4 separate regions of the Homo sapiens genome follow, and all the other regions are linked to region 4. The links are contacts of gene promoters, found by promoter capture Hi-C in blood cells and fetal thymus (Javierre and others, 2016). All regions are on one chromosome and are shown on one strand. Each heading gives the region's core, a stretch centred on a gene start or on the middle of the fragment in contact. The rest is flanking DNA. Distances are from core to core; before and after follow the strand shown. Region 1 overlaps SP100 (SP100 nuclear antigen). Region 2 overlaps SP140L (SP140 nuclear body protein like). Region 3 overlaps SP140L (SP140 nuclear body protein like). Region 4 holds the start of SP140 (SP140 nuclear body protein).

What was found. The method cuts DNA at HindIII sites, captures the fragments that hold promoters and counts their contacts. A CHiCAGO score of 5 or more calls a contact.
Region 1: a contact is called between a fragment that was not itself captured here and the fragment with the promoter of SP140 in region 4, in 7 of 17 cell types (non-activated CD4 T cells, naive CD4 T cells, total CD8 T cells and 4 more). The highest score is 8.9, in non-activated CD4 T cells.
Region 2: a contact is called between a fragment that was not itself captured here and the fragment with the promoter of SP140 in region 4, in 5 of 17 cell types (total CD4 T cells, naive CD8 T cells, naive CD4 T cells and 2 more). The highest score is 6.9, in total CD4 T cells.
Region 3: a contact is called between a fragment that was not itself captured here and the fragment with the promoter of SP140 in region 4, in 5 of 17 cell types (total CD4 T cells, non-activated CD4 T cells, naive CD4 T cells and 2 more). The highest score is 9.6, in total CD4 T cells.

The regions. Positions count from the first base shown.
Region 1 is chr2:230,461,044-230,468,452 of GRCh38, reverse strand. It overlaps SP100 (SP100 nuclear antigen), which reads right to left. Exons shown (of 29, transcript NM_001080391.2): 9 at 7,039-7,191; 10 at 5,935-6,018; 11 at 4,303-4,386; 12 at 2,099-2,152; 13 at 1,238-1,333. All of the region lies in intron 3 of LOC101928816 (a long non-coding RNA gene), which reads left to right. Among named protein-coding and RNA genes, the nearest start is that of SP100, 49 kb to the right of the region's middle. The HindIII fragment of the contact is 1,551 bases long and covers 539-2,089 here.
Region 2 is chr2:230,368,077-230,375,294 of GRCh38, reverse strand. It overlaps SP140L (SP140 nuclear body protein like), which reads right to left. Exons shown (of 19, transcript NM_138402.6): 6 at 4,328-4,387; 7 at 3,644-3,697. Among named protein-coding and RNA genes, the nearest start is that of SP140L, 44 kb to the right of the region's middle. The HindIII fragment of the contact is 5,923 bases long and covers 2,210-7,218 here.
Region 3 is chr2:230,385,097-230,392,325 of GRCh38, reverse strand. It overlaps SP140L (SP140 nuclear body protein like), which reads right to left. Exons shown (of 19, transcript NM_138402.6): 9 at 7,022-7,102; 10 at 3,693-3,767; 11 at 2,303-2,407; 12 at 97-239. Among named protein-coding and RNA genes, the nearest start is that of SP100, 27 kb to the left of the region's middle. The HindIII fragment of the contact is 4,959 bases long and covers 1,989-6,947 here.
Region 4 is chr2:230,222,749-230,229,448 of GRCh38, reverse strand. SP140 (SP140 nuclear body protein) reads right to left here and starts at 3,713. Exons shown (of 27, transcript NM_007237.5): 1 at 3,546-3,713. The coding sequence starts at 3,604. It also overlaps a transcript of SP110 not described here. RefSeq lists enhancers at 3,124-3,173, 3,194-3,273, 3,344-3,393, 3,624-3,833. The HindIII fragment of the contact is 6,572 bases long and covers 1,456-6,700 here.

The DNA.
Region 1 (7,409 bases), core at 65-2,564, 240 kb before region 4:
CTTGAGTTGCCATGAGTCCGTGTAAAATCTTATCATATTTGGTGTGAATATTTATATAATTTGCTGTATAAACATTAGTATATTTGAGAATGGGATTCTTCCCTGGATCCTACTAGGGTATTTTGTTGTATATAGAATATAAACCACATTGTCTTTCTAAAATAATAAAACATTTTTTGAACTTTGAAGTACATCTGGCTTTGAAGGTTTTATAGAGGATTATGAATGTTTATTAAGAGTTTGGGTTGTTAGTCTTGTCTCCTCCTATAACTTTCCATATGTGATGTGCAAAGAAAAAAGATCCTTAAGTGTGCCTTAGTTTCCCCATCTGTCAAATGGGGGGAACAATAGTTATCTCACCCACCTTTTAGGTTGTTGTAAAGATGCAAGTAGATCTTATTTGTAAATATATTTTCAAATATCACTATTTGGCCAATTTCATGTTGGGGGCCATCTGTCAAAAGCTATGAATTGAATCTGATGGTAAGAAACAGGAGGCTTTCTTTCTGTCAATAACTAGAGAGTATGACCAGAAGCTTTGGAATTTTGAACAAGTTGGTGACAAAATCAGGCAATAACAGACTAGTGTACTTTCTTTTCTTTACAAAACAGAGAATGAGCAGAAGTAGAAATCACTACATAAATCCAATACTTTGGAGTTAATAGGTCTGGCAGTGATATGGTTTGGCTGTGTCCTCACCCAAATCTCATCTTGAATTCCCATGTGTTGTGGGAGGGGCCTGGTGGCACGTAATTGAATCATGGGGAGAGATCTTTCCTGTGCTGTTCTTGTGATAGTGAATAAGTCTTACAAGATCTGAATGGTTATATAAGGGGGAGTTTCCCAGCAGAAGCTCTCTTCTCTTGTCTGCCACCATGTGAGACGTGCCTTTCACCTTCTGCCATGATTGTGAGGCCTCCCCAGCCATGTGGAACTGTAAGTCCATTACACCTCTTTCTTTTGTAAATTACCCAGTCTCAGGTATGTCTTTATCAGCAACATGAAAATGGACTAATACAGGCAGTATGTAGTAAACAGGCCACTGCCACTCAACCACAACCATCTTGTTAAGCCTGAATTTAGAGTGACTTCTTTCTTTGCATTTTTCAAAATGGCCAGATGAGGTAGATGCAGAGAACTGGCTCCTGGATAGCTGTTGTGTGTGCTCAGAGCACAGTGCATCAGGGAAGAGGTGCTCTGAAGTCAGAGCCCTGAAGTCAAGGGAGCTGTTCTTACCCTTCTCACCATGCTTGCTTCTCAGTGCCCCGCTCGAGGCTTCTGCGGGCGCCTCCTCCTCACTGGATTCTGAAAAGTCGTGGTCTTGTCCTATCACTGCAGAAAGGAGCAAATGTCCTTTGGAGCTCTCAATGTATGATAAGGGAACCAAGTCAGAATAATATTCTATGAAAAGGAAACTAGGAAAATTTGTGATGCTCTGAAACTTCAGGGCAAGAATGTCCGTGCCTCAAACCTCCATGATCTGCCTTTTCATTCAGATTTGTGTGGCTCAAGGTTAGTATTTTATCCCTCACTGTCACCTGAGCCTGAGGCTGAGAAAATTTTAGCCCCAGTGGGCATCTCTGCTTTGTCTTGGCCCTCTGTCTTCTTACACCACATTATCTTTCTTTCTTTACTTGTCCCTTTATGGTTTTGTTGTGGTTTTTGTATATGGATTTGTATTTATTTGTAAATTTGCTTCTCTCTCAGGGCAACCATGAAAGTCTAGGATGGGAGAAGGCAGATCTTCTACTTGCCTGCTTCCCTGAAGAACTGCTTGAAACAGAGCCCAACCTTTCCCTCATCTAAAAATCCTTGAAATATTCAGTTGAAAAAAATACAAACTTCTACTAAAAAAATAAAAAACCTTCTGTTGTGTTGGGGTCATTGACTTCTTTGGGTTCATATGTTATAGCAGTTAGCCAACCTCCCTAATACAAAGGCTAAAATAGGAACCATTGAAATTTAAAGCAAATTTATATTTTACTTTGAAGGATATAGCAAGGAATTAGACTGACTCTTTTGTAGAAAATATTGTTCATTTATAACCATGAAGAGAAGTTATTTTCTCTTACCTCTTTTCCTAAAGCTTTCTCTTACCTCTTTTCTTAAAACTTTCTCTGAATGTAGATAATTTTCTGAAATCCATGGGCTCTGTAAAGTAAAAGGGAGAAACCCGTTATTTGTATGCAAGAGACTTATAAATTCTATGACAACTGACATGGCAAATGGGCTTGGGTTAATAACAAAGTTTTTTTTTTTTTTTTTTTGAGATGGAGTCTTGTTCTATCACCCAGGCTGGAGTGCAGTGGTGCAATCTTGGTACACTGTAGCTTCTGCCTCCCAGGTTCCAGTGATTCTCCTGCCTCAGCCTCCTGAGTAGCTGGGATTATAGTTGTGCACCACCAAGCCCGGCTAATTTTTGTATTTTTAGTAAAGACGGGGTTTCACTGTGTTGGTCAGACTGGTCTCGAACTCCTGACCTCAGGTGATCCACCTGCCTCAGCCTCCCAAAATGCTGGGATTACAGACCTGAGCCATCGTGCCCTGCCAATAACAAAGTTTTGATGAGCGTTTTTCTCTCTCTCCTTCTAGTGAATCCAGTTCTGGAGGTTCAGGGTCATAATGTTGGGATCCTGCCCAGCTCTCTCCATAATCCTCTGTGTGTATTATTTGGAAATGCCTCTTTTTAATTAATTTTTTCAACTTCTATTTTAGGTTTGGGGGTATATGTGAAGGTTTGTCACATGGGTAAATGTGTGTCACAGGAGTTTGTTGTACAGATGATTTCATCACCCAGGTATTAAGCCCAGTACTCAATAGTTATCTTTTCTTCTCCTCTCCCTCCTCCAACCCTCCATCCTCAAGTAGACCCCAGCATCTGCTGTTTCCTTCTTTGTGTTCATAAGTTCTTATTATTAAGATCCCACTTACAAGTGAGAACATATGGTATTTGGTTTTCTGTTTCTGCGTTACTTTGCTAAGGATAATAGCCTCCAGCTCCATTTACGTTCTCTCAAAATACATGATCTCGTTCTTTTTTACTTATTTTTTTTGAGACAGGGTCTCACTCTGTCACCCAGGCTAGAGTGCAGTGGCACAATCGTAACTCACTGCAGCCTCAACTTCCCAGGTTCCAGTGACTCTCTCACCTCAGCCTCCCGAGTAGCTGGATCACAGGTGCACACACACTACCATTCCTGGCTAATTTTTTTTTTTGAGATGGAGTCTTGCTCTGTCACCCAGGCTGGAGTGCAGTGGTATGATCTTGGCTCACTGCAACATCCCTCTCCTGGGTTCAAGTGATTCTTTGGCCTCAGCCTCCCGAGTGGCTGGGACTATAGGCAAGCGCCACCATGCCTGGCTAATTTTTGTATTTTTAGTAGAGACAGGGTTTCACCATATTGGCCAGGATGGTCTCGAACTCCTAATCTCATCATCTGCCTGCCCCCGCCTCCCAAAGTGCTGGGATTACAGGAGTAAGCCACTGCACCCGGCCCATGCCTGGCTAATTTTTGTATTTTTGGTAGAGGTGGAGTTTCTCCATGTTGTCCAGGCTGATCTCAACTCCTGAGCTCAAGCCACCTACCTGCCTTAGCCTCCCAAAGTGCTGGGATTATAGGTGTGAGCCACTGCGCCTGGTCATAAATGACTCTTAAACACCACTAGCTCCCATTTTCTCACATATAAAGCAGGGATAAACTAGTTACCCTACCTCCCTGTTAAGGTTTTTGTGATGGGGAAATGAAGGTTCATTTTCAAAAGCCCTGTGAAAAATCACAATGTAAGCCAATAAGTGAACTATAATTTGGGTTTGGGTGTAGTTGAAGTCACTTTTTTTTTGCCATTAATAATTAAATAGCAGCACAAAGTATTCTTTGAAGACTTTCTGAGCTTGTGATTAAGACAATAATTATCAATGAACAAAGGAAGACTGTGCTTATCATGCTCTATCAAATATAAAGGGTAGTAGTAGAGAATAAGTACATTATTTCAACTCTTGAAATAATAACTCTTGATAGTTTGTTGTTAAAAAGACTGTTATTTTACTAGCATATTTTTGCTACATTTTCAATGTATCAATCGATTGAACCAATCCAGTTAAACAAGAGTTTATAACACCTTCCTAATGTCTTCCATTTCTCAACAGGGCCAGAGAGGTTAAATGTAGAAAGTGATATTCTAGAATTTATGGAATCAAGGCATAAGGAGACCACTCAGAATGAAATTAATCAAGAAAACAGAGCTCTGGATTTGTACTCTGGATATTCTACAGTCTCGGGTTGCAACTCTAATATTCTTACCTGGTACAATCTGGGGTCGTGAGCAAGTGGCTTCTTGGCCCTCCTTTTCATCATTTGATTCTAAAGGGTTGTCATTATTGATCACTGCACAAAAGAATGGGATTCTTTAGAGGTCTCAGTGTGTGACCAAGGAATCAGTTCAGTAGGAAATTCCCTAATAAGAAAACCTGGAAAACCTTGAAAATCCGTGCAAGTCCTCGCCTGTACACAGGCCATGCTTGTCTTGCCTTTCAACTAACCTTCATTGTGGGTTAGTGATACTCCATTCTTGTCCCCAGAGGGAATATTTGCCTTGCTTGGCCTTTGCTTTCCCACGCTTCTTTTACTTCTTATCCCTTCTGCTTGCCATTCCACATTTCCTTTGTTTCTGCTTCTATTTTTCATGCAGGGGGACCTTGAAGATCTTCTGTTAAATTCGTGAGCTTTTTCTACCTCCCACCAACCCAGTGCCTTGCTGAATTGTTTACAAGGCTGAGAAATAATCTCCTCATGTATTTGAGCCAAAGACATATTTTGGGACTATTTTTTACAGCAGATTGCTTACACTAAGTTCAAAGTTAGAGTACATATTGTCTAAAAACTAATGCAAATTTACATTTTACTTTGAAAGATACAGTGAGCAATTAGAATGAATGTATTATTACATTGTTATTTTATAACATCAAGATGAGGTTCTTCTTTGCTCTTAGGTCTTTCCCTAGTGTATTTTCCCTAAAGTGGCATATTTCTAATATCCTCTGGATCTAGAAAGTAAAGGGCAAAACAAATCAACCAATTTGCATACTTATGTTATGATAAGTATTTATGTTATAAATCTTATGACAACTCATGCTGCAAATAGGATTGAGATAATACAAGATTTTAATAATGTTTCTCTCTTTCATTTCACAAAGGAAGTAACTCAGAATCCAGGATGCTAGTCTTGTCTTTCCTTTAATTTACCATGAGATTTTGGAGATGACTTTGAAACATTTATGCAATTGTGTTCTCTCATCTAGGAAACAAGGACGAGAATCTCTCTTCTGTTTACCCCTTTAAGGTTATTGTAAATTTAAAAATAAGACAATTTGCAAAAGTCTTTCAAAAAATCACTAAATGTGCCATGACTTGCTGAAGAACTCTATCAGAAACAATACTTCAAGTTTCAGAATACTTTATCTCAGGTGTTTGTTTTTGCCAACACCAGATAGTTGGATGAGATGTCTTTTGACCCTATTCAAAGTTTGTGATCAGATGACAATAACATCTTCCCATAAAGGAATATTTAGTTTTCTGTTCTCTATAAAAATCACTATATAAATCTAACACTATATAGGCATAGCAACTAGTTAGTTTTAAAAACAAACTCATCACTTGGCTAGCCTATTCCTACTATATAATCAATGTATGGGTATGAATATTGATTAATAGAATCCATCAAGAAAGAAGGCTAATTCTCAAAAATAAGTTTATAACAATTTCTTGTCTCCCTGCATTTTCCAAAAAGGTCAAGTAAAATTAATGCAAAGAATGGGATCCCAGGATAAACTGGATCCATTGTACAGAATGAGCTCAGAATAAAATGCCTCAGGAAATAGTAGCTCTTAAATCAGATTCCCACAGCCCAAGCCTTGCTCTCCCAAACTTCCTTACCAGGCTCACTTCTCGGTGCTGAGATGAAGACTTCTAAGGGCTCATCAACGTCAGTGGATCCTTCAGAGTCCTCACTGCTGATGACTGCACAAAGGAGCAAAAACCATTAAGAGTCTCAGGGTGTGACCAAGGAGTCCATGCACCAGGAAATTCCACAATGAGAGCACTAGGAAGACCCAGGAAGCTAAGTTAACTCAAGACCCTGGGGTGTTCCTTGAATGCATGCCACCTGCAGTTTGTTCCAAGTTCTTAACCAAAAGCTGATAAAATTGACACACAGAAGGCAGTTGTGCCCATCCACTGACACTGTTCTTACCCCAACCCTCATTCTATTTTTTTCTTTCACTCTCATTTTACTTCTCATCTTTCCTCTTTGTTCTGCCATCTCCCCTGCTTCTGCCTCTGTTTCCAGCGATGGTGTCTCTTTATACCTCTCTTTGTCTTGATGTGTTTCCCTCCCCATCTCCTCTTGTGAATATCTTGGCTCTCTGATTTTTTTTTTAACTCCTCTCCCATGCCTTCCTCTCTTTTTTATTTTTTATTTATTTTTTCCTTTTTTTTTTCTTTTTTGAGACAGAGTCTTGCTCTGTTGCCCAAGCTGGAGTGCAGTGGCGGAATCTTGGCTCACTGCAACTTCCGCATCCCAGGCTCAAACGATGCTCCTGCCTCAGCTTCCTAAGTTGCTGGGACTACAGACATGTGTCACCTTGTCTGGCTAATTTTTATATTTTTTGTAGAGATGGGGTTTCGCCATGTTGCCCAGGCTGATCTTGAGCTCCTGGACTCAAGCGATCCCCCTGCCTTAGCCTCACAAAGTTCTGGGGTTACAGGCATGAGCCATCAGGCCCAGCCCTCTCTGACTTCAGAAATAGCCTCTCTGACATTCTTACTGATTACCTCCATTTCTGTCTTCTGGTATTTTCCCAACTCCTAAGGACTTTCTTCTGTCAAGCTGAAGACTCACTGCATCAGGTGCCAGCCCCTTTCCCTTCCTGCCTCCATCCCAGGCTACCTGCACTGCCCCGATGGTCCGTGATGAAGTCCCTGAGCCCCTTACCTGGTAACCTGTGACTCACAGTTACAAACTCTCCCAGTCAGCCTTACCTATTATGTCAGATGCCTGGTTATGATGAGTTCTTGCTTGGGCTTGGCACTCAACTTTTGAATTAGAAAATGGCTTTTCCTTTTTTATATCCACCAGTCGCACAGAACAGGAATTAATTTGGATTCCATGGTTGTGTAGCTCTGCCTCTGGGCCTAATTGTAATAAATGAAGAATTTTCATTTGTGTCCCCAGTGAACCTCCTTCACTATCATTAATAACTCCCCCTCTCTGCAATTTCACTGCTGGGGCTAGACCTTCACCCCACCTCCGTGTTTTTCCTTTTGCTCAACTCTGTCCCTTCCTTTGTGCCTCTCTTGGCTCTGTTTTGTTTTTTACCTTTCCCTTTACCTACTCGTCTCATTCTTTGATG
Region 2 (7,218 bases), core at 3,922-6,421, 140 kb before region 4:
GGATAAAGAAATGTGATAAGACACAGATCTGTGTATATTGGAAAATATATATAAAATCATGTTTCAAATCAAGAAGAAAAAAGTATTGGGGTTATATCTCTTAATTATCATCTCACATCATACACCAATAAATGAATTCTATGTGTGTTATAGATTTAAACATTAAAAAGTATTTCAAATATTCTACAAGCAAGTAAAAATGTTTTCAAATTATGAGGAGGATAATATATTTGTAAATTGTACACAAAACCTGGAAACCATAAATGAAAAGACTGACAGATTTGATCAGATAAAAATTTCAAACATCTTTGGGATAAAACATATAGGTATATCTTAGAAATATTGCACGTTTGGTTTCAGAACACTGCAATGAAGTGAATATTGCAATAAAGCAAGACACAATTTTTTTGGTTTCCCAGTGCATATGAAAATTATGTTTATACTATACTGTAGTCTATTAAGTATTCAATAGCATTATGTCTTAAAAAATCAATGGGCATACCTTAATTAAAAATACTTTATAGCTCAAAAAATGCTCACAATCATTTGAGCCTTCAGAAAATCATAATTTCTTTGCTGGTAAAGGGTCTTGCCTGGGTGTGGATGGCTGCTGACTGATCATGGTGGTGGTTGATAAATGTTGAGGTGGCTGTGACAATTTCTTAAAATAAGACAGTAAAGAAGTTTGCTGTGTTGATGGACTTCATGAAAGATTTCTCTGTAACATGTAAAGCTATTGATAGCATTTTACCACAGTAGATTCTCTCAAAACCTGCTGCTGCTTTATCAACTAATATATTCTAAATCCTTTGTTGTCATTTCAACAATGTTCACAGCATCTTTCCCAGGAGCAGATTCCATCTCAAGAAACCACTTTCTTTAATCATCCATAATAAACAACTCCTTATCACTCAGTTTTATCATGAGATCACAGCGATTCAGTCACATCATCAGGCTCCACATCTTTTTTTTTTTTTTTGAGATGGAGTCTTACTCTATTGCCCAGGCTGGAGTGCAGTGGTGCAACCTCTGCTCAGTGCAACCTCTGCCTCCCGGGTTCAAGCGATTCTCCTGCCTCAGCCTCCTAACTAACTGGGACTACAAGCACAAGCCACCACGCCCAGCTAATTTTTGTATTTTTAGTAGAGACAGGGTTTCACCATATTGGCCAGGCTGGTCTTGAACTTCTGATGTCAGGTGATCTGCCCGCCTTGGCCTCCCAAAGTGCTGGGATTACAGGTGGGAACCACTGCAACCTCCACTTCTAATTCTAGTTTTCTTGATATTTCCATCACATCTACAGTGACTTCCTCCACTGAAGTCTTAAACCCATCAAAGTCATCAATAAGGGTTGTAATCAACTTCTTCCAAATTCCTGCTAATGTTGATATTTTGACCTCCTCTCATGAATCATGAATGTTCTTAATCGCAATGTGAAATGGTGAATCCTTTCCAGAAGGTTTCCAATTGACTTTGCCCAGATTCATCAGAGGAATCACTATATATAAAGACAGCTATAGCATTACAACATGTATTTCTTAAATATTAAGACTTGCTAGTTGAAATTACTCTTTGACTCATGGGCTTGCTGAATGGATGTTGTGTTAGCAGGCATGGAAATAGCATTAATCACCTTGTATACCTCCATCAGAGCTCCTGTATGACTACGTGCACTGTCAATGAACAGTGATATTTTGAAAAGAGTCTTTTTTTCTGAGGAATATGTCTCAATGGTGGGTTTAAAATATTCAGTAAACCATGCTGTAAACAGATGTGCTCTCATCTGGGCTTTATTCCAATTATAGAGCACAGGCAGAGTAGATTTAGAATAATTCTTAAGGGCCCTAGGACTTTCAGAATGGTAAATGAGCATTGGCTTCAAGAGAAAGTCACCTGCTCCATTAGCCTCTAACAAGAGACTCCTCCTGTCCTATGGAGCTTTGAATCCAGGCATTGACTTCTCCTCTCTACCTATGACAGTTCTAGACAGAATCTTCTTTCAATGGAAGGCTGTTTAGTCTACACTGTAAATCTGTTGTTTAGTGTTGCCAACTCTATCAGTGACCTAAGCTAGAGCTTCTGGACAACCTGCTGTAGCTTCTACATCAGCATTTGCTGCTTCACCTTGCCCTTTAATGTTATGAAACAGCTTCTTTCCTTCAACCTCATGAACCAACTGGTGTTACCTTCAGACTTTTCTTATGAAGCTTTCTACATCTCACAGCCTTCAGAGAAGTGAAGAGAGTTAAGACCTTACTCTGGATTAGGCTTTGGCTTAAGGGAATGTTGTGGCTGATTTGATCTTTCATCCAGACCACTCAAACTTTCTCCACATCAGCAATAAGACTGTTCTGCTTTATCATTAAAGTGTTCACTGGAGTAGCACTTTTAATTTCCTTCAAGAACTTTTCCTTTGCATTCATAACTTGGCCAATTATTTTCTGCAAAAGGCCTAATTTTCAGCCTATGTCAACTTTTGACATAGCTTCCTCACTAAACTTCATCATTTCTAGATTTTTATTTAAAGTGAGTACATGTGACTCTTTCTTTTTTTTTTTTTTTTTTTTTTTGAGACGGAGTCTCGCTGTGTCTCCCAGGTTGGAGTGCAGTGGCGCGATCCTGGCTCACTGCAAGCTCCGCCTCCCAGGTTCATGCCATTCTCCTGCCTCAGCCTCCCAAGCAGCTGGGACTACAGGTGCCCGCCAACACGCCCGGCTAATTTTTTGTATTTTTAGTAGAAACGGGGTTTCACCGTGTTAGCCAAGATGGTCTCGATCTCCTGACCTCGTGATCCGCCCGTCTCGGCCTCCCAAAGTGCTAGGATTACAGGCGTGAGCCACCGCGCCCGGCCGACTCTTTCTTTAACTTGAGCACTTACAGGCCATTGTAGGGTTATTAATTGACTTAATTTCCATTTTTTCATCTAGGATTTTCCTATCACTCTATTTAAAATTCTTCCAACCTCTTTCCACTGCGCAATCTCAAAGACACCCCAACACTTTCAGGAATATGTGATAGCCACACCCCACTGCCAAGTACTAAAATCCGTATTACTCTTAATTGCTGCCATAACAAATTACCACAAATTTAGTGGTTTAAAACAACACAAATATATTATCTTCCAGTTATGTCAGTGAGAAGTGTGACACGGGTCTTACTGCCTAAAGTCAAGGTGTAGGCCTTCATTCCTTTCTGGGGGCTGGAAAGGACAAACTATTTCCTTGTTTTTTCAGCTTCTAGAGGTCATCCACATTCCTTGGTTCCCTCTTCCATCTTCAAAGCCTGCAACATTACATGTTTCTGATGACTCTTCCATAGTCACATTTTCCTTTCTCCACAGCCAGGAAAAGTTCTCCACTCTTTAAAGCCTACAAGATTAGATTGGGCCCACCACATAACCCAGGATCATCTCCCCATTTCAAGGTCTCTAAATTAATTGTATCTGTAAAGTCCCGTTTGCCATGTAAGATAGCAGATTACAGGTCCAGGGATTAGGAGGTGGACGTTTTTTGGGGTGGCCATCATTCTCTCTACCACAGTATTGCAAATAATAACAGAAACAGTAACAATGACAAAAAGAAAACTCTGGCATTAAAAATGTATTTGTAACATCAAAAGCAAGTAAATTCTTATTTATTCTTACTTCTTTTCCTCTTGGGTTTTCCCAAAGTAGAGTTGTTTGCAATATCCACAGTATCTAGAAAATAACAAGTGGTAGTGAGGAAACAGAAATTAATAAATAAAAGTTATAGATTTTAGGACAATTCATACTATAGAAGGCTTGAGTTTATAAAGATGTTTGGTTACTCATTTCTCTCTTTCTTCTAGAGGAACCAAAAACCCACTGAACTGAGAACTAGGAGTCTAGGATGGGCCCTGGGTCTTCTATCAAAAATACGTGTTGGGCTAAGAGTAGACCTGCAGTCTTCCCCCCTGACAATTAATACCAGGATTAGTTGTCTTTTGGGTGAGGCCTTTCTAAGGTGTAGCAAAATGACACTATTATCTACTAGCAGAAGTTCACTGGGTTATCTTGGGTTCCATGGAATATTGAGTGTGACTTAACATATTAATGCAATAAACAGGATAACTGCCACTTTAAAGAGCAGCACCATTCTATGACGTCATCCATATGTAATCAACAGAGCCCATCTTGATAAGTAAAACTTTATAATGATCTCTTGCCTCTCTGCAGTTCCCCAAAGGCTTGGGTGAGGCAAATGCACAGAACAGGATTCTGGGCGGACTGGAGCACCTGCCTCCACTCTTCCCAGGGTCTGTGGGGCCCACTGAGCCACCCCATCCCACAGCCCTCAGGCAGCCTTACCCATTTTGCCACATGCTTGGTCACTTTCCTTCCTTGCTTCCGGGCTTTCTGGCACTTCTCCTGAGAAACACATGACATAGGAACACTTCTCATTTTCACATGCTGGTCGCTCTGCTCCCGGGGCAAAATTGTGATTTATGAACTTTTAATTTGCCCCAATAACCCTCTTTTCTGCACCCTGGTTGCTGCCCTCTTCTCTACTTTTTCCTCCGAAATCTTCTTTCACTTCTCCTCCCTATATTTGACTCTTCCTTTAAGTCTCCCTTTTTGTCCTCTTTTGTCTTTTTTTCATTATCAGAACTCTGTTTCTGTTTTTAATATTTTTAAGTCATAATTACTTGGTACATCACATCATAGCAAGCTAGAAGCAAGCTCTTCTGATTCTCCTTCTTTGGTCATTTGGTAATTTTCTAGTTCACCAGATACTAATGAGAAACAAAAAAGTTATTTTATTTTTATTTTTGTATTTTATTATCTTCCAGTTATGTCAGTGAGAAGTGTGACACAGGTCTCACTGCCTAAAGTCATTATGTTAGTAGGCCTTTATTCCTTTCTGGGGTCTGGAGAGGACAACCTATTTCCTTGTCTTTTCAGCTTCTAGAGGTCACACACATTCCTCGGGTGACCTCTAGACAGTGACCAGAGAAGAGTTCCCAGTGCTGTGATGCTGGACACTAATATTCTGAGCCAAGGTGAAGTGCTCTCTGGAAAAAAATATACCCGCTCCAATAATCACGCCTGACACATAACAGCCATGCTCTCCCCATGTTTTGCACCTCCTTCTCCTTTTCTTTACTTTTATTTTTCTACTTGTAGTCCTGAGAGTAAAATAGAAAAAATTAAAAAGCTCTTATCATTCCAGAAAATACTAATGTTCTTTGAAAACAGTAAGAAGTGGCAGGGTGCGGTGGCTCATGCCTGTAATCCCAGCACTTTGGGAGGCTGAGGTGGGCAAATCACTAAGTCAGGAATTCAAGACCAGCCTGGCCAACAGGGTGAAACTCTGTCTCTACTAAAAATACAAAAATTAGCTGGGTGTGGTGGCGTGCGCCTGTAATCCCAGCTACTTGGGAGGCTGAGGCAGGAGAATCACTTGAACCCAGGAGGCAGAGGCTGCAGTGAGTGAGCCAAGATTGTGCCACTGCACTCCAGTCTGGGTGACAGAGAGAGAGACTCAGTCTCAAAAACAAGAAAACAAACAAACAAAAAGAAAGTAGTAAGAAGTAACTGTTTCAACTTGTCCTAATTGGCCATTGATTACTTATATCACTAATCATTTCTGAGAGCTAGCCCATCAGTGGCAGTCCTACACATCTGAAGGCCAGCCAATCAGCCGCAGCCCCCTCCAGAAAGCCCGTGTTGATGGCTAAATGCTAAACTATTCATACACTCCTGTTTCTGAAAGTCTGTAGTGCCTGAACTATGTTTCCTAAAACTCTATATAAAATCAGCAGTTTCCTTATTTGTAGATACTCCAGCTGGTACACATGGTCTGAACCTCCAAGCTCACACTGAACCCAGGCTGAATCCTGAATCCCCAGGCTCCAGGCCAGCCCTTACAGATGCAGTCTTCAGCCTGCCCCAGCACTACTTCAGCCTCAGTGAACCCAGACTACTACCAGTGGCTCTGGCCTTCAGTCTCATCCCAGTACCAAGCTGCCTCTCATGCACTGGTCTTCAGGCTCACTGAAGTGCCTGAAGATGGCTGCACCAGTGGTGTAGATCCCTGCAGACTCTGGCTCAAGGCCTGCCCCAGCATAGACCTGCCCACTGATTATCCTAGGCACCTTCAGCAGCAAGCCTTTCTTTGGTCTATGCAAGATGTAATTCCTAGAATTTCTAAGTAGGGTGAAAGGCTTTCCCAGACAAAGCCAATCTACAGAGGCTGAAATAAGTCCTTACTTCCTTAAATGCACAGATATAAATGCAAGGTAATAAGAAATGTGAAAAGCCAAAGAGACATAACACCATCAAAAAGACACAATAATCTCCTCATAGCTCACCCCAAAGCAATGAAGATAACAAACTGCTTCACAAAGAATTTACAATGATTGTTTTAAGGAATCTCAGCAAACTTCAAGAATATACCAAGAAACAATTCACTGAAATCAGGAAGACAATAAATGACCAAAATGAGAAATTTAACAGAGATTGAAATTATTTTTAAAAAGAAACAGAAATTCTGGAGCTGAAAAATACAATGAATAAAATGAAAAAATGCAACAAAGAGCATCAATATCAGAATTAATCATGTAGAGGAAAGAATTTGAACTCAGACAGGTTGTCTGAAAATACAGCTAGAGAAGGAAAAAGAAAAAAGAATGAAAAGTAATAAGGAACACTTACAGGATTTATGAGACTGTGAAAAGAGCAAATGTTTGAGTTGCAGAAATTCATAGAGGAGAAGAGAAAGACAAAGGGATAGAAAGATTATTTAAAGAGATAATAGCATAAAACTTTGCAAATCTGATGAAAAACATAAATCTTCAGGTACCAGAAGGTCAAAAGATTCAATCTAAACAAGACTACACCAACATGAGCTGTCAAGATTCAAGAACTTAGAGAGGATCCTGAAAGCAGCAAGAGAACAGAAGCAAATAACATATACGGGAGTTTCAATAAAGATAGCAATGAACTTTTTTGGCAAAAACCTTACACACCAGGAAACCGTGAAATGACATATTAAAGGTGCTGAAGAAAAAAACTGCCCACCAAAATACTGTATTTGGCAAAGGTGTCCTTCAGAAATGAAGGAGAGGTAAAGACTTTCCTAGGCAAACAAAAGCTAAGAAAGTTCATTACCACTAGACCTGCTTTACAAGAAATACTAAAGGGAATTATTTAAGCTGAAAGAAGAAGATGCTAACTAATAAAATAAAAACACAAGAAAA
Region 3 (7,229 bases), core at 3,219-5,718, 160 kb before region 4:
GCTATAACCTAACAAATATTTGGTGAATAAACAGTCTCCTCATTATTAGGGAACAAGAAGAATGGGCACAGGTCTGGCCTCTTGTCATTGGAATACCTCCATCAGCCGTCGTAGGGGCCACCCGCCACAGCGCACACTCAGCCTCCAGTTCTTTGATCTTGCGTAGCCTCCTTTGATTTCAAATTCCATGGGGGTGAACCATTTTCCATCCTCAGTCTGTATACACTTTGCCAAGGTTCCTGTAAGACCAGGGTAACTTGATCCTGAGCCCTCTTTGTTCCCAGCGCTCAGACTGTGGCCACTCACCACATTGGATCTAGAGCCACCCAATTTGTGATGAAGATCAATAGCAGGAGGGTCTGGCCTTCCCTCTCAGACTTCAGAGGCCCCAAATCCAGCCTGAAAGTCCCCTCTAAGTATATTTCCTGGTGGGGGTGCACATGTCTTTGACCTTCACCCATGAGGAGAGTGATGGTTATCAGCAAGAGCAACCTTTTAAGCATTTCAAAAGCACTTACAGAAGGAAAAGCAAGTGATTCTGAAAGATGAGAGGACTCCAACTTGCTGTTGAATTCTGGGAGTAGAGACCAGGCCTGAGTCTGCAGATGGCTCTGGAGGCAATGTGGAGGCAGAATCCTTACTTAGGGGTACAGTCTGAGATAGGTGCCCTGTGGCTCAGGAGGCCACACTGGCAACATATGCACCTTCTATTACAACATTTTTCATTCAGTTTTAGGGCATTATTGAACAGAGATTTTCTCATCTGTGCAATCATGGGCAGCTGATATTAAAAAATAATTGTGAAATGTTACCTAATAGAAAAATTAAGTTATATATAAAAGATAGTCAACCCCATCAGCCATTAGGGAAATGCAAAGCAAAACCACAATGAGATACCACATCACACTCACTAGGATGATCATAATAAAAAAGACAAACAATAACAAGTGTTGGTGAGTGTGTAGAGAAATGGGAGCCTTCATACATTTCTGGTGGGAATATAGAATAGTGCAGCTACTGTGGAAAACACTTTGGTGTTTCCTCAATAAGTTAAGAATAGAATTACCATTTGACTCAGCAATTCCTTTCTTGAATATACACTCCAAAGAGCTGAAATATGTTCACACCAAATTTGTTACATAAATGTTCAAAACAGCATTATTTATAACAGCCAAAGAGTGAAAATAACCCAAGTTGATGAATGGATAAACAAAATGTGGTATATCTATACAATGAAATATATGATTTATCAAGAAAAGAAATGAAGTACTAATACAATATGAATGAACTTTGAAAACATCATGCTGATTAAAAGCAGCCAGTCATGAAAGGGGATGTATGATAGGATTCCATTTGCAGAAAATGCCTAGAATAAGCAAATTTATAGAGCAGAAAATAGATTAGCAGCTGCTTAGGGCTGGGCATTGGGGTGAGGTGGGAATGGGCATTGACTACTAATTGACATGGGGTTTTCTTTAGTGAAGGACAAATTGTTCTAAAATTAGGTGATAATAATGGCTGTACAATCCTGTGAAAATACAAAAAAAATCATTGATTGGTATACTCTAAGTGGTGAGTTACATGATACATGAACTGTATTTCAGTTAAGCTGTTAAAAAAAGTCACAATGAAAATGTTTATATTAATTGGTGCTCAAAGAGCCAAGTTAAGAGAGGTCTGAGATGAAGGCCATTCTGATAGACATTTTTGACAGTTTTATAATTTTCAATCGTAAAATATTTTACATTAATATGTAAATTAATTCTCACAGCTACATCATGAGGTAGGTTTTTAATTATTGTTCCCTCTCTTGGATGAGAGATTTCACATTCAGAAAGGTCCCCTTCTCTACTCAGAATGGAACAGTCATTCCTGGCACAGCCAAGGCTGGAACTCAGGCTTCCTAATGTTAAAACCTGTGATCATCACCCAAGCCAAGCACCCTGCCTTGGTGACAGCACTCCAGAAGGGAGAGAGAATATGAAGCTTGAGGTTGAGGGCCTCTTCCCTTTTCTGTCTGATTCAAAGTAAAATACCTGACATTTTCCATCTGTGAATTGACGTTCCTGCCTTCTCTTTTGTTCTTTGGGTACCCCCTGGACACTCCATGTGCGAGTCAGCGTCTAATGGGTGTGATTTCTTAAAGTCTTAAAATGTCATCTTAGGGATCCCTTCCTCCTTCCCTCAAGCTAAACTGGGCCCAAAACTCCTTGAATGATGTGTAATTCACACAAATAATTTCACCACTTCTTGTGATGCCTTCAGATAGGAGCTGCAAATTAAAGAAGACTATGAAACCCACCTTGTTCCAATTTCTCCTTATGTAAAATTCCCTTCACCCCACCACAGGTCACTGGAAGTAAAGGAGCCTGAAAATCCACAGTTTCATCTTTGTGCTTTCTTGAAGCTGAAAGAGAGGATTTCTTCATTCTGTCTCACTTTGCAAAGGCACATCCCCCCTTCCCACTGAGGTAAATCCTATAAAGGCACAAAGAGTACTTAGGAAATTCTATTCCATAAATCTCTAGAGTTTCAAAGTCTTTCTTCCAAGTGGCATTTTTGATCGGTAACTACAGAATGTGTGCCCCAATTTCACCTTTCAAATTTCACAGAAAATTGAATGCTTTATCAGAGAAATTAGACTTCAGTAAAACTGTTTTAACTTCCAGTGTAGTAAGCTCCACTGATTCTTATATGACAATGAAACATACAGTTGTTGTCATTGGTTTGATGGGCGCTCTCCAGCTATTCTGTTTTGCTGCAGTTAGGTAGCCAGAGATGAAGCCAGAGACCATAATCAGTCTCCCATTTGGGCACTGACTGGTCAAGGAGGGAGAGGCTAATGATGAGATAACCTAATGGAGACAGCACCTGCCTTCTACTTTTATTCTCTGCTTTGCTCCATTTTCCCCTCCTATCAGCTTTCTCCACAGCTGAGAAAGGAGCTCAGGGAGCTCTAGAATAATCTGAAAATTGTACCTAGCAGGGGGTGGGGAACTGAGAACCGGATACTACAGAAGTAGGTGTGAAAGTTTTTCAAAGAAAAACTCCAGGAGGATGAGCAGCTAATCCTGCCCTTCCAAACAGAGGTGTAGAGGCCATGATGGGCAGGGGAAGCGGTCTTTGGTCCTGAGACTGGTTTTGAAAAGGGCACACTATTTAGACTGGGATGGACTAATAAGAAGGGTGGTTGGCCTAATTCATCCTCTAGCTTCTCAGATGAGGAAACCAAGGCAAAGAAGGCCAAGTGGTCAGCACAAGATCACACAGTCAAAGATTTTTTAAAAAGCCAAAAAGCCTTAGGACACAGATCTCTAACCACAACTCTGGTTCAACCTTAGTGTGCAACATGTGGCTTTCTGTGTAGCCAGAGGAAGATCAGCTAAATCACTTACGGGTTATACCCTTTATACAGCAATGGCCTATCTTCAGCCTTGAAATTTATCATTTCAGTGGAAGTAGCACTTTAGTGACCCCCTGGGGCCCCAGGGTCTGGTTGTAGATCCATCACCAACTTACTTCCTTCTTTCCTTGATACATTTTGGAAAATGACTTAATAAGATATGTTTTTCAATAGTTAGTATAGCTTCATAAAACAATTAAAGAAATAGGTTTATTACTGAAAATACAGCATAAAGCACAGGAAATTAGATGTTTAGTTATTGAAAGTGCATTCCTCTTTTCTTTTTTACCTCTTGATCGGACTCTTTTCTGTGGAGCTCTGTCACTCTGAGTAAAGTGGGTTCCAGGTTTGCCTCTCTTTCTCCCTGAGAAAGTAGAATAATAAAATCACAGTTACAAATGAGCAGCTGTGTTACATATATTGCTGCTTTTCAAAAATTCCATTTAAATGTAACTTTCCAAAAGCCTGTTTAATATATAAATAAAAAGATTTAAACCCTAGCCTTTAAGGTATGAAGAATTAGATAGCTAATGTTAGGTTCACTTTATATTTCATTTTCCTATTCTTACATTAGAAAAAAACTAATTGAAATCAGTATTTCACATATAACTCAAACAACAGTATAAATACTTCATTCCATATTTTGAAGGTTCATTTCATATTTTGAAGTTTCATTTCATATTTCATTTCAAATATATATTTGAAATATATATATGGCATATAATATATGTTAAACACACATCCACTAATTTAATCTTTGCAAGATCAAAATGATGATTACTGTCATTACAGAGACTAAAATATTCAGAGAAAATTGAGACAAAACTACAAAATTAAGTGAAGGTGTTTGGGTTTCTCTTAGCAGAGACACAAATAAATGGCAGTTCTGTGAGTTAAGGGAAACCCTATTAGGTGCTCCATAGGTGAGATGTATGCTGCACATATCACATTGGGGGAAGATATTTGTACCCTTGTGCTGAAAGTAATAGTAAATGTGACCAGGGCTTCGTTCACATGGCTTTGGAAAAAATAAATATTAGGATCTAAGAAACTAATCAGAAGAAGGTTAACCATGAGGAATGGGTAGAATTGAGACTTCCACAGCCTTCATTCCAAATAGTAATTAAGGATTGACATGGCAGACACTGCAGCCGACGACGTTCTCCCAAGTGCATGTTAATTGGCTGTGAGTGGGCATCTCAATGTTTACTAATGTTCAAATGTGTTTTATTTTCCAAAGCAGGAAAGCAAAATGTTCCTTCCTCCTTGTGCTGGATGTCCACCATCCAATGACCACCATCTAGGGATGCTGGTCAGGGTCATGTAGGCCCCATGGAAAAATATTTTCCAACCTACTTATTCCTAAGTGCTCTAAACTCTAAGCATATTATGAGCATATTAGGCCAGCAAAGTAGAAAGGACCAATCGGACCCAAAGTAGACCTATGGCTTGGTAATATAATTCCACTTTCTGGTCTTTAGACTACACAGTTACTGACCAGGTTTTTACCCATTTAAGACCCAAATGGCCCAAGGAACCAATATTGATAATTACAGACATCTTATCCCAAGATCAAACAAGTTTCAAATTTGCAAGTTGTCATCCTGTTAATATTTAACCAAGATAACAGGCACTCAAAGAAGAGCTTTAGAAGAGTTTAATAAACTTGTATAGGGAGGTAGGAGGCTTGTATAGTAACAGCCAAGGGCTAAGAAAAACTACTAAAGAGGTGGAACTGTGGTTCTCCAAGACGCATGTTAATCTTTTTGCTCCATCTTGCTGCCTGCCTCTGGAAGATGAGGTTTCCAGGCAATAGAACATCAGCCACACAGGTGTGGCTCTCTGAGAAGCTCTCCTCCCCTCCTCTCCCACGCAAGATGCCAAGTGGACTCTGGAAGTCCAGGACATCTCCAGGTCTCTCCTCTTCAATGCTTCACCCCTCCCTCCTCTCCTGAGGGTCCGCACTCACCGTACAGTGAGAATAGATCCAGATGTCATATCCTTGCTGCTCTTTTCCCTCCTATATTCCAGCCAGGCTTGGCACTAGAGCTCTGGCCACAACCTTGAACAGTCCAGCTAATACAGAGTTATTTCTTCCTTTCTCTCTAGCTGTTTCTGTCTGGTTACATCTTTTCTGGGACTAGTGGGTATGTCGGATTTAGCTTTCATTAAATCTGTTTAGGCCTCATATTTTTAGGGAGAAAAAAGAAACAACATGAAGTCTACTCTAGTCTATGGAGGTTTTGGTACAGAACAAACTGGAGCTTAAATCCAGCAAATTCATAATACAGCACTACTGTGTTTTACTCTCAGAATCAAGTGGCTGAGCAAGGCAGGATTCAAATATTATTGTGTCTCAGGCTGTAATACCCATTTAACAATACTGAAACCCTAACATAAACCTTAATAAATACTATGGTGGTCAGAATATAATTTAAAGTTGTTTTAAAATAATTGTTATGGTTGGTATTAACCTCTAGAAAGAAGTGTGACAGAGTTTTCAATTTCCTCCTGTTTTCTCAAAATTTCACTTCAAGTCCCAATGGTTGGGAACAATCCAATAAGTACCAAGTAGAATGACCAATTGTCCTGGTCTGTCCAGGACTAAGGGGGTGCCCAGGACATGAGAGTTTCACTGGCAAAATTGAGAAAGTCCCAAGCAAGTAGGTTGAGTTGATTACCCAAGTTCCAAGCACCCGCATCCTAGGACAATGCACCAGTCCACCTATGGGACCATAGAAAGAGTTGGTGGAACTGATTATGCCAGGTTCAGCCCTTCACTCACACCCAGGTTGTAGAAGAAAAGCTCTATTTCTTTCAAAATAAGTCAAGCTGTGATGCCTGACCCCTCCCCTTCCCTTGCAGTGGACTTGATGAAAGCATCTCACGGAAGAAAGAGCTAGTGATTGTGCATCAACCACTTGCAATGTCATTTCACGGCTGCACCTGTCAGGCAAGACACTTCCACACTCTGATCTCACCCCTTTCTCTCACCTCCCCAATCCTGGATGGGACCAAGCCAACAGCTATGGAGTGGGGGTAGGGCCAAGACAGAATAAGAGAAGACACTGGCCATGTCACCCCCCAACTATATGTGTTCCAGACTAAGGCTTGCCCAGGCTGAAGGAGGGAAGGTGCTTTAAACTGGGGAGGACATTGGAGTTTTAATACTTGGTCAGAAAGACTCTCAATTACTGAAATGAGACTCTTATTGTTGTGAAAAGGGAACAGGAAAGCGATAGGGCTTGCTCAGGACAAGAAATAACTTATCTAGGAGGAGGACTTCAAAGGGCAGTGGGAAAATAAACCTGTATTCTGCTTACAATTTACCAGGTCCAGCCATTTTAATTAGCCAATGATTTAAGGCAAAGGAATTCCCAGGAAAATCAGATAAAACACAGAGGAAAACAACTTTAGAACTTGGACAGATAAGATCTATGATATGAATACAATCAACTTACAACTCTGGCTTCTAATGGGTTTGCTGTTTTTTAGATTTCACTGCTCTGAAATTGACTAAGTTTGACTAGTAAACAATAAAGCTTCTAGGCTCCTCAAAACCTCAACATGTGCATTGACCTGCAGGGCAAATGAAAAGTGGTACCAACTTTATCTTACCCCTAATCTTGGAAAGGTCTTTCAGATTCATGTTCGCCTTCTTTTCACTCGAGACCAGCTGGCCATCGGCTTTGCTGTTATCTGGGGATAGGCAAGGGAAAATGTATTAATAGAACTGGGCAGAACAACAGCTCACAGGCTGGACCAAACGCAAGTGAGGGAGTCCTGGGTTTCACTCTGGATCCCCTCGAGCAGGTGTCCAGAGCAT
Region 4 (6,700 bases), core at 2,464-4,963:
TCATGCAAAGGGAAAAATGATGTGGGCCAGAAACTCAGATTTACATAGAGAAAGAAAGAGCACCAGAGAAGAAATAAATGCAGATATAATAAAATGTTTTCATTTTTCCTACTCCAAGTTAACCTAAAATGAAGCCATTTATTCAAATTAATAGAATCAACAACATATTGAGTGGTTATGGGACATAAATAAATGGAATGACTGGAAGCCCTCCTGTTCTTTTTAACATTGTCAGTCATTTCACAATGTTAAAAAGAACAGGAGGGCAGAATTTGGGACATTCAGTTGCATGGTGTATTCTCTACTCATGAAGTGATATAGTGTAATTTAAAATGGGCATGATTCGCTGTAAATATATATTACAAACTTCAGGGAACCACTAAAAATGTTTTAAAGGAAGTATAATTGATATGCTAAGAAGGGAGAGAAAATAGAAGCATAAAATGCTCAATTAAACCAGAAAAGGCAGGAAAAAAGGAAGAAAAGATAAAAACGATAGGTACAATGAAACATTTACAAATGTGGTAGATATTAATCTAACTATATTAATAATCACTTTAATGCCAATGGTCTAAAACACCAATTAAAAGACAAGAGATCAACAGAGTACATAAAAAACACAAAACACCCGACTATATGTTGTCTATAAGAAAGTCATTGTAAATATAAAAATACAGATAGGTTAAACATAAAGGGATGGAGCAAGATATACCATGCCAACACTAATCAAAGAAAAGGTATAGTAGCTATATCAATTTCAGACAAAGAAGCTTCAGAACAAGGAAAATTGTCAGGGATTAAAGAGGGACATTACATTATGATAAAAGGGTCAATTCTCCAAGAAGGTACACAATCCTTAATGTGTATGCAACTAACAAACTAATGGCAAAATGTATGAGGCAAAAACTGATAGAACTATAAAGAGAAATAGACAAATTCACTACTATTATTGAAGGCTTCAACACTTCTTTTTTATTAATTGACATATCACACAGGCAGAAAAATCAGTAAGGGTGTAGTTGACCTGATGAGCAATAGCAATCAGCTTGGTCTAACTGACACTTATACGGTACTCCATTTAACAATAGCAGAATGCATGTACTTTTTAAGCTCACATAGAATATTTGCCAAGATGTACTTCATTTTGGGCCATAAAACATACCTTAACAAATTTAAAAGAATAGAAATCCTAAAAGTTTGTTCTCAGACCATAAACTAGAAATCAGTAACAGAAAAATAGCTGGAAAATTCCAAAATATTTCCAGATTAACCAAAAGAGTTCTAGGGTCAAATAAGAAGTCCTAAAAGAATTTTAAAAATATTTTGAAGTAAATGAAAAGGAAAACAACTTATTAAAATGAATGGGATGCAACAAAAGCAGCACTTAGAAGGAAATGTATAGTATTAAATGCATACAATAGAAAAGAAGAAAGATCTAAGTCAATAATCTAAGCTTTCATCTGAGGAAACTAGAGAAAAAAGGAGCAATTTAAGCCTGATGCAAGCAGGAAAAAAAATTAAAATTAAAGTGGAAGTTAAAAAAATTGAAACAGGAAAACATTCGAGAAACTTAATGAAACCAAAAGCTGATTTTCTTTTCAAAGAGTTAATTAATAAACCTCTAGCCAGCCTAACAAAGAAAAAAATAGAGAAGACGGAAATCATCAGAATGAAAGAAGGGTCATCACTACGAATTCCATGGACAATGGAAAGGTAATAAAGGAAAACTATGGACTCTACACCTACAAATTTGGTCACAGATGAAATGAACAAATTCTTTAAGAGGCAAACTAACCAAAACTTGCACAAGAGATAGGTTGTCTGAATAGGCCTACATCTATTAAAGAAATTTGAATCGATAATTAATAGCCCTCCAGAAAGGAAAGTACTAGGCCCAGATGGTATCACTAGCTAATCCTACCAGATATTTAAGGAAGAAATGACATCATCCTCCCCAATTTCCTCCAAAAATAAGAGCAGAGGCAACACTTCCTAACTCATTCTTTGAGGTTAGCATTAGCCCATTGTCACCTCTCAGTGCCGTCTTCTTCCTGCTTGGTGACCATGGGCTGGCTGGACTTTGAGCTCCGCTGGCTCATCTTCCCTTCACTAGAGAGCAAGTGAAAGAGAGATGACAGGGATGCCTGTCTGGGAGTGGTGGCACTGGGCACTGAAAACCAGTCTGGTGCCACCACTACTGCTGATAATAGCAATAGCTTTTGCTTTCTTGGGGCTGTACCAGCGCCAGAAGTAGCCTTAGCACAGAGTCCCAATTAGACAAGTTTCCATACATTTTTACATTCCACACATTTTCATTTTTATCAAGAATGTACAGTCATCCCTTGGTATCCAGGGGGAATTGGTTCCAGGACCCTCCATGGATACCAAAATCCATGGATGCTCAAGTCCCTGATATAAAAGGTGTAGTATTTACATATAACCTATGCACATCCTCCTGTATATTTTAAATCATCTCTAGACTTATAATACCTAATACAATGTAAATGCTATACAAATAGTTATACTGTATTTTAAATTTTTATATTACTTTTTATTGTTGTTATTTATGTTTTTAATTTTTAGAAAATATTTTGCATTCATGGTTGGTTAGATCCATGGATACAGAATCCACAGATAAGAAGAAATGACCGTATTGATGTACTTGTCTTTTTTTTTTTTTTTTTTTGAGATGGAATTTCACTCTTGTTGCCCAGGCTAAAGTGTAATGGTGTGATCTTGGCTCGCCAAAACCTCTGCCTCCCTGGTTCAAGCGATTATCCTGCCTCAGCCTCCTGAGTAGCTGGAATTACAGGCATACACCATGACACCCAGCTAATTTTGTATTTTTAGTAAAGACAGGGTTTCTCCACGTTGGTCAGACTGGTCTCATTGTCTTACATTTTTTAAAGATGATTTCCAGGCTTCTCTGACCAGATATGTAAAAAATACCAGAACAGAAGAATAAAAAAAGCAGAAGCAGCACTCACTCTCTACCTGCTTGCCTTTTTTGTTGGGTCTCATCTGCTTTCACTTCCTCCTACCAAGTATTCAGAGATCCTGAAGTGATTCTAGGGCTAAGAGCCACATAGATGGGCTCAGAGCAGAACCGGTCCCCAACTACACAGCCTGGAAAGTGTGACAACAGACAGGCGTTTGGATTTTAATTCTTCTAAAAAGATCCTTTTTAGACAGAGTTGTCTTTTGGAGTGGGGATAAAGGAGGCCTGGGGGAGAAGAGAGGGTTCAGAGGTCACGGGGAATCATCCAATCCTACACAAAGCCTCAGAACAGGCATGATGTTCAAACAGCTCCAGTCCAGCCATTTGCAGATGTAAGAGAATAGGAAGATGATGTGAGTCACGGCATCCTTGAGTTTCTCCAACAGCCAATCCCTGCAATTTAAAAAATCTGATTGCCTCGTTATTTATTTGTAACTGAATTCTATTGTATACCTGTAGAGTGAAGCTGGGTAGACATTAAATAACAAGTATGAAAGGGAACCCTACCAGAGATGAAGGACAGACGGGAAAGGAGACGATGACCCACCTGAAGTTGAGATTGCTGTCTCCACTTGCCATCTGCCCCTGCTGGCCCTGCTGGGCCATGAGCTTGGCCTAGGATCACACCCGATTCGATTTTCACTGCCCCGTTCCTTCCTGCAGCTCTGAGGTGAAGCTGCCAACTGCCCCTCGGTGCTCAGTCAAAGAGGAAAAGAAAAGTGAAATTGCCTAACTAGCTGACGTGGGTGCACCAACTCTACAGTCCTCCCTCCACCCAATCTCCATGACGTCTCTCAGTCAAGGGAGGAGGAGCAGAGCCAGCCCCACGAGGCCACGGAAGACAGGGTCACTTGTTCCTGCCAAGGAAAGAGGGTGGAAAAGTCATTCAACTCAAGCAGATCAAAGTTGTTTTGAGGTAAGGTGGCATCATGAGGAGGAAGTAAACTCTGTATTTGTCCCCACCCCTTGCTGAGGTGGCTGAGAAGGACAAGTGAAGACCAGACATTTCAAATCTTCAGTCAGGCTCCAGGGCTGGCCATGCACCTTAGTGAGCCTGGGCTGGATGGCTTAGGCCCAGTGTTTGGACATGGGGCCAGGGAGAACTGAAATAGCATGCATTAGAAAGTGGGGGAGATGCTCTTAGCACTCCATGAAAGCAGACAGAGGTAAAAGACAACTCTCTCAACTCCTCCAGCCAAAGGCAAGTGCTGAGGTTGGGCAGAGAAATGAGGTGCAATTCTAAGTTTTCTCAAATATGTGGGCACTTTACAACAGCAGCCAGGGGTGACTGGGAAAAAAATGAGCTTCAACCATTTCACTGAAATCTTGAGGAGAGTGACAGCCTTCTCACTGGATGGGGAAAGGGTTTGGAGCTGAGATTATCTAGACCTTCAAGGACAATATGATACAGGAGGATAGCTGTATTACATTTATGTTTGCACACAATTTTTCATTTATACCCAGCCCTCATTCTGTAAAGGATTTGAAACAATTTACAAAAACACACTATATCAGCATAAAGTCGAGTGATAAACAAATGGAAGCAAAGGGCAAATATAAAAAATATAACCACAGGACTAGAAATCCAGGCAGAAAAATGGGTCAAAGACAGGGGGCTGATGAGAGCCAGGGTATGGGTAGAATCCAGGGCCAGTGACAGAACAGTAGTGAGGATTGAAAAGCCAGAGGCAAAGCAGTATTTTTCCAAAACATGTGCTCCTGAATCCTACTTTTTCTGGTTCATTACACATATGCAAGGAAATTTGCATACATAAGTTTGCAAAATACAGAGTGCAAGAAATTTCTACCCCTTCCACACTTCTGCTTTCTTTCTACCAAAGGAACAAACACCAATCTGGTTGAGACAAACTCTAGAACACTGATGAGGACACCTTTTCCAGTATCTCTCTCTCTCTCCTCTCTCTCTCTCTCTCTGTCCTCTCTCTCCTCTGTCTCCCTCTCTCTCCCTCTCTCTCCCTCCCTCTCCCTCCCTCTCCCTCTCTCTCCCTCCCTCTCCCTCCCTCTTTAAAACAAGAAGGAAAAGTATGCTGGGCTTCTGTTAGACACAGCTGTCCTCTCCTCCCAGTCTCCATGGGGCTCCAACAAGGCCTGGTACAGACTATACCGCCTGCTCCAGCATCCCCTCTCTCTCTTCTCTCTGCCCTTAGGCAGTAGGCAGACCCAGGACACCAATGAACTGGACATTTTTGAAAATGTGCCAGCTTCTTTTGCTTATAAGCACAAGGCCATTGGTGTTCCTCAGCTGACTGGTGGTAAGATTGGTACTTCAGGGGTACTGCTGCTACTACTAGAAAGCCCTACTTTGCAACACCATGCATTAGCCCAGGTAAGGATAGCCTGAAATTTCAGTTCTATTTCCCACTATCTTGTTTTTCCCTATGCTCACTACAGAACCTCTCCTGGGTAAGGGATTCCTGGGCCAGGCATATGTAGGACCATCAGACCATCTCTGGTTCCCAATGTCTTCCTTTACTGCCACGTGACCAGTGGAGTCAGAAGGCTCCGGCCTGCCTCCTGGCTCTGTTCCCCCATCCAGATTTAGGCCAAGTAGGTCATAATCCCCAAAGGTAAATCAATGCTTTCATTCTACCTGGAAGATTTCTCTTCATTTTGCTAAGCATGCTAGAATCTGACACCTGGAATTGGGGAAATGAATTGTATAGAGTCTTGATCACAATCCAGTGCTGTAATTTAATTTGCCAACTTACCCCTATTTGCCCACAACTCCAAAATTCCTGACTCTGAACGCTAATGGGGATGTTCACTGTTTTTATGTCCAATTATGTCAGATAACCAATCCCAGATTGATCATATTTCCTTGAATATCTCTTGCCTATAATTCAACCTCTGGTGCCCAACATTTTTATCAGTCAGGATTTGGGAGTAAAAGTAATCCAAACTGACTCTGGCTAACTCAGGCAAAAAGTCAATTTCTTAGAACTATATTGGGTAGCTCACAGAATGTATGGGAAAGCCAGAGGACTAGGTTAAGAAAGTAGGCAGTCCAGGCAGGTTATATTGACTCACTTGCCCTTTGTCATAATATAGTTGAAAGATATCTGGATCACCTGGACATCCCATAGAATGTCAGACTGGGCTGGGCATGGTGGCTCATGCCTATAACCCCAGCACTTCGGGAGGCTGAGGCAGGCAGATCACGAGGTCAGGAGATCAAGACCATCCTGGCCAACATGGTGAAACCCCATCTCTACTAAAAATACAAAAATTAGCCAGGTATGGTGATGCGTGCCTGTAGTCCCAGCTACTCAGGAGGCTGAGGAAAGAGAATCACTTGAACCTGGGAGGCGGAGGTTGCAGTGAGCCAAGATTGCGCCACAGCACTCTAGCCTGGAGACAGACCGTGACTCTGTCTCAAAAAAAAAAAAAAAAGTCAGACTGATTGATGACATCATGCTGATCAGACAGGATGAGCAGGATCTTGGTGGCTAGCATACCTGCTAAAGAAGAATAAATTACTGACCCACAACAACAGAGATGAATCTCAAAAGCATGATGATGAGGAAAAGAAAGCCATACACCAAAAATGCATTCCATGTGCCTTCATTGATAAAAAAAAAAAAAAAAAAAACTTTAATACACACGAAACTAATCTGTGGTGATAGAAAGCAGATCAGTGGTTGCCTGGTGCTGGCCTTAAGGAGGGGATTGTTTGCAAAGGTC